2 separate regions of the Homo sapiens genome follow, and region 1 is linked to region 2. The links are contacts of gene promoters, found by promoter capture Hi-C in blood cells and fetal thymus (Javierre and others, 2016). All regions are on one chromosome and are shown on one strand. The core of a region is centred on a gene start or on the middle of the fragment in contact, and the rest is flanking DNA. Distances in the headings are between cores, read along the strand shown. Region 1 overlaps KLHL15 (kelch like family member 15). Region 2 holds the start of KLHL15 (kelch like family member 15).

What was found. Contacts are between HindIII fragments. The CHiCAGO score rates a contact against its expected background, and 5 or more counts as called.
Region 1: a contact is called between a fragment that was not itself captured here and the fragment with the promoter of KLHL15 in region 2, in 6 of 17 cell types (activated CD4 T cells, naive CD8 T cells, total CD8 T cells and 3 more). The highest score is 11.2, in activated CD4 T cells.

Annotation. Positions count from the first base shown.
Region 1 is chrX:23,983,291-23,986,131 of GRCh38, reverse strand. It overlaps KLHL15 (kelch like family member 15), which reads left to right. Exons shown (of 4, transcript NM_030624.3): 4 at 1-2,412. Among named protein-coding and RNA genes, the nearest start is that of KLHL15, 42 kb to the left of the region's middle. The HindIII fragment of the contact is 240 bases long and covers 1,153-1,392 here.
Region 2 is chrX:24,025,868-24,028,680 of GRCh38, reverse strand. It overlaps KLHL15 (kelch like family member 15), which reads left to right and starts at 1,495. Exons shown (of 4, transcript NM_030624.3): 1 at 1,495-1,541. RefSeq lists enhancers at 416-915, 2,123-2,626, 2,627-2,813 and a silencer at 2,794-2,813. The HindIII fragment of the contact is 3,234 bases long and covers 1-1,871 here.

The DNA of each region.
Region 1 (2,841 bases), core at 23-2,522, 42 kb after region 2:
GAAACCAGGTACATAAGTAGCTTTTGAAAAAACCATTGGCATTGATTTCAAAAATCAATAATAATCTTATTTTATATATGAGACTTATATTTTCATTAACTAGTCCTGTCATTTACTTACAGTTTCCAAACATGAAATTTGGTATCTTGTTTCCCATGGTAATATGGGTAAAAGTCTTTTTCTACATTTAAAAAATACATTATTTTATTTTTGAAAGTTAGGAATAAGTTAGCCATTTAATTTTTTTCTACATTAGTTTAGTGGCTTTGTATGTGTGCTATTTTGCTTTAAAGAAAATAACGTCTTCATTATTTTCCTCATTGATGTCTTTTGCTAGAAAAGACCAAGAAAGAGCCATCAGGCCAGGTATCCACATCAAAGCCTTTACACTATAGTGGTGGTTCTCTTTAATTGCTTAGATATGACTTCATGACCCTAGTCAGGGTGACATCTGGGCAAACATTTGAGTATTCTTGGTCTTCCATTTTAAAGACAGAGGCCAAGATCAAAGTTCATGTTTTGTAAAATTCGTAAAATCTTAACTTGAACTAACTCTGGGTTCAGCTTTACGTAAGTCACGTCGGACCTGATGTTAGCTGTAATCAGTTTTGAGCTTTAAGGATAGTTGCTGTTGCTTGGGTTCTGAATGTATGAGAAAACTCCCTGTTTATATGTAGTTCTAATTTAGGTTATTTTAAATCCATGATTAACTTACATTCCCTTTTAAAATTATGGTTTTATTGCTGCAAGAGATTTATTTTTGTTATACTAAACTATGGAAAAGTTTTTCATAGCATTTTTTTCAAGTTTATTTTTTGTGTGCTTCATTTGGAGTTTTTGTTTATATACATTGCGCTCAAAAAAGTAGTTTTTTGAAAAATTCAGTAAGATTTGAATCTATACAGTTTAACTGTTATGACCTTTATGCGTGTTGTTTTCACTTTATATCTCAAATGCCAGAGTTCACAAAAATAGCTGATCTTCATTAATTACATCTTAATTAGAACCATTTGTTCTCTTCCGTGTCTTTGACCTTCTAAGTTTTGATTTTAAAGAAATTCCTTGCACTACAGCCTTTTCTTAAAATGCAAGATTCTCACTTTGAAGGTTTTGTGTTGGAAGAAATGCTACTGGTTTTTAAAAAGCAAAGCTTAACTAATAGAATTATTAGCTTTTCTTGAGACAGCTTTCTGTGTCCTCATTACTCTGCTCTGTGTGAGTGTTACTAGAATTTGTGAAATACTGACTGAGCCCTTCACTTATCTTTTCTAAAGCAGCACCTTTGGACACCTCATTCTGGGAAGCCTGCTCGAGTCATAGTAAAGGACACACGCTTTATGTGGGGAGAAGTGGTAAAAATGGAGTTTTGTCTTAATTACATGAAACTAAGCTTTAAAATATTTTATAACAGATTATTTGAGCTGCATAATCTAAACATGTCAAACGTTCAGTGGGACTATTTTTATATATGTATATGTGGGTGTAGGTCATAACATTTCAGTTTATAATATAAATTGTTATTTCAGTTTATAAGCTATCTCTCAGAGGAGACTAGCTCTTTTGAGAATTCATAATTTAAAGTTTTAGACTGAAGTAAAATGCAACATAGATAATAGTGTAAATCAGATATAATTGAGGGCTATATGGCAGTAAAACTGCTAGTGCCAGTTTTCTTGTTTGCCTGTTATACATTTTTGATTTTTGTTTTTGTATTCTGAACATTTTGAGAGATCATATGTTTGTTCAATTACATTTAGAGTTGGTTTGGGAATAAATATCTTCTAAAAAGAGATTTATCTTAAAAATGGAAGTCCTAAAAATTAGTTTATCCAGAGTTTATAAAGTCAAATATTCAGTAGGCATAGACTGGAATAGATAAATTCATGGAAATCATATCCTTTCAGTACACCGTATAACTTCAATATTACACAAGTAACATTGAGGAGAATGCCATCAGCTTTGTTCTCCCTTAAATTCTTTGGTTTTCTTTTTACATTTTGGGAACAACTGCATTTAAAATGTTATTAGTCAGTATATAGTAAGGATTAGGTGTTTGCTTTCTGAAGGAATGGTCCAGTGAGGTGATTGGGAGAGGTTATTTTCTACCTAACTTGTATATGCCCTATACCTCTTGGGCATACTTTGTCTATAGAAAAATATTTTGACCTTTAGGTACATTTTGGGCCAGTAGTCAAATAATCCTAGGGCCGATATAAAAATCTTAGAATAATTTAAGGTTTGCCTTTTATACCTGTTTTGAAAGCCTTTACATTTTTGTCAGGTAATTTTTCCCAAGCCGTGGATATAATCTATTCAAACATGTTTATGCTATCCATTCTGTTTTTAAATTGAAAAAAATGTTAAAAGTGTTTATGAAGAAAAGTTTAAATAAAATATTTTTAATCTTTAAAATATACTTCTTTATCTCTGATTATTTGCTGTTTTTTGATATAATCCATCACTTTCAAAGTCACTAATGACTTGATTAGCAGAATACATTTTGTTTTCCTTCAACATGCCAAGGAAGTGCCATGAAAATGTGATTTCTGCCAGTGCTTTCAGCCGCAGATTCAAATGAGAGCATTAGAGTGAAATTATTTATACTCTTATATGCAATGGAAATTTTATAATGAAGCCAAGTAATTAAAGTTCTACTAACACAGAGTTTTGCAGTCTTGCAAAATGAAAATATAGAACTGAGAAAAAGCATTTACAAGCCTCAAGCCTTAGTTTGGTGATGTTTAGATTTCCTTAAGCATTTTTGATTCATTGGTCTTCCAGGCATTTCTGAAATTCAGAACTAGGTGGAGGCCTTGGGTACATCAGCACATGTGTGCCATC
Region 2 (2,813 bases), core at 246-2,745:
AAAAAAGTAAAAAGAAAAGTGATTACCAAGACAACTACCACAGACTGGGAATTTCTGAAAAGCCTCAACTTTTCTTTTCTTTTTTTTTTTTTTGAGACAGCGTCTAGTTCCGTTGTCCAGGCTGGAGTGCAGTGGTGCAATCTCGACTCACTGCAACCTCTGCCTCCTGGGCTCAAGCCATACTCCTACCTCAGCCTCCTGAGTAGCTGGGACCGCAGGCCCGCACCACCATGCCAGCTAATTTTTTGTATTTTTAATAGAGACGGGGTTTCACTATGTTCGTCAGGCTGGTTTCCAACTCCTGACCTCTAATGATCCTTCCGCCTCGGCCTCCCAAAGTGCTGGAATTACAGGCGTGAGCCACCACGCCTGGCCTCAATTTCTTAAAAAGCAAAAACAGGAGGGAGGAGGAGGGTATGCAGTATCCTAAATCCTCAGAACCCCTGGGGAAGAACCTCATTCCAACTCCACCAGCACTCCCAGGCCCAGGCTTCTAGCATGCTTCCGACCTCGCTAGCTGCTAAATAAATAGCTATTGAGGAATGTGTATTCTCAAATACTTAGGCTAGAGGGCTAAGAAAAGACAGCTTCCATCTACCTCTGTGGGACTCTACCAGTGTGAAAGGATACTCTCAAGGTATTTAACAACTCCCATTACAGTCCAGAAATTGGTGGGGAAAGTTAAAATATATTTTCTTTTCTTTTTTTTTTTTGAGACGGTGTTTTTGCTCTGTTGCCTGAGCTGGAGTGCAGTGGCTCACGCTTGTAATCCCAGCACTTTGGGAGGCCAAGGCGGGCGATCATGAGGTCGGGGGTTTGAGACCAGCCTAGCCAACACAGTGAAACCCCGTCTCTACTAAAAATACAAAAGTTAGCTGGGCACGGTGGCGAGCGCCTGTAATCCCAGCTACTCGGGAGGCTGAGGCAGGATAATCGCTTGAACCCGGGAGGCGGAGGTTGCAGTCAGCCGAGATCCACTGCACCCCAGCCTGAGCGACAGACTCCATCTCAGAAAAAAACAAGCAAACAAAAACAAAACAAACAAACAAACAAAAACAAGAAAAGAAAAGTTAGCCGAGCATGGTGGGGCACGTCTGTGGTCCTAGCTATTCGGGAGGCTGAGGTGGAAGGATTGCTTGAGCCCGGGAGGTCAAGGCTGCAGTGAGCTGAGATCATGCCTCTGCCCTCCAGCCTGGCCGAGAGTGAGACTGTCTCAAAAAAAAAATAATAATAATAACATAAAAATAAGAAATAAGAGTGAAAGAGGCATCATTGATTGAAGATAACTTGGGGAGGGGTTCATATAGTAAACGTATAGATTGATTGAAAGACACAGCCCAGTTTTAAAACTACATAAATATCCAAAAAAGCACATTTGAAATTCCACGAGACCTTGCAATGTCAAAATAAGGAGGGACGGGAAGCACGGTGATCACACAATGGCTTATGACATACACTCACTACATTTATACCTGGTACAAAGAGCGCAGAAACGTTTCAACTCTTGCTTGAATCAAGAACAGAAGCCTCTCTTTAGACAGGTCAGTGCCACATAGTAATGTATAGCTTAAAATGTTAGTTAATGTACAAAAATCCAAACTCAGCGTTTAGATGTTCGGGAATAATGCATGAACATTTAAATATTCAGAAGTGGAATGTATGCATTTTTAAAGTTTATTTTATGATTTAATTTTAAAAATTTGTTTTAATGTGAAATTCTGGGGTAATTTGTCATGTAGTAATAGATACAAATATGGCAAGCAGGGATTTTTAAATAATGAACAGAAATATCTTAAAGGAGCTATTGGAAAAGATGGAAAGAAAGTGTGAACAACTTGGGAATTTCAGTGTCTTACAGTTTTTTTAAAGCTTGTTATAGTTTAAATCGGAATAAGGAAGCGTATTTCCAAAAGATTGAAGTGATTGTGTTATCTCTCCCACGAAGTAGTCTACTTCAGCAAAACAGTACACCGTGTGCTATTTTGGCCTCTTGGGAAAGATGGTATGTTCAAGTTTGCTAGAAAGAGATAATTATCGCTTTTAGCGACACCTCTCACGGAAAGTTCATCGGGATATTGGTCTAGAGAGAAAATGGCGGCGGGGGGTGGGGGTGGGGGAAGCCGAAATACCTCAGTTTAGGATCTGCTATGGGCAATGGATGCCCTAATTTAAGGTTAATTGTAGATCCACGGGCTTCCAACTGTGTATTTCCGTCATCTACACTTTTCCCAGAAAGAGATGCCATAATAAATTTACAAAACAGTCCTATAGTCTAGTTTTATATTCTTGTCAAGAAAAGGTAATATTTAAAAAGTACTAGCTAGAATTCTATAAAAAACGAACAACAAAAATCACTGCCCTCTGAATGTTCGTTCTTGATTATTTTGACGCAAGTAGAGACAGCTTTTTTAAATCCGGCATTATCTCCGGGTGGTGCAGACATGCAATTTTTTATGAATTTTCCCACCCTTGGGAAATCGATTTCTGAAACGTGTAATTGTTGTGCAGTAAGCCAAGTGGACAGTGACGCAATAGTCCACTGCAAGTTGCCTTACAAAAAATGATGTCATTTGGCGCAGATCTAGTCACTTTTATAACAGGTAGCTATGGAAAAGCTCCCTCCACGTTGTCCCCGATTCCCCCACCCCCACCGTGGCCAAGATGCAAAAAGACACTTTCCTGGCTTCCTAGCCCTCAACTTGTCGAGGGTGGGCGCACCGCAGTGGCTCAGGGCCCATCGCTCGTGCAGGCGGAGAGAGACCGCTGCAAGGGGACGAGGACAGCTGAGTGTCCTCAGCCCCGACGGCGGCGCC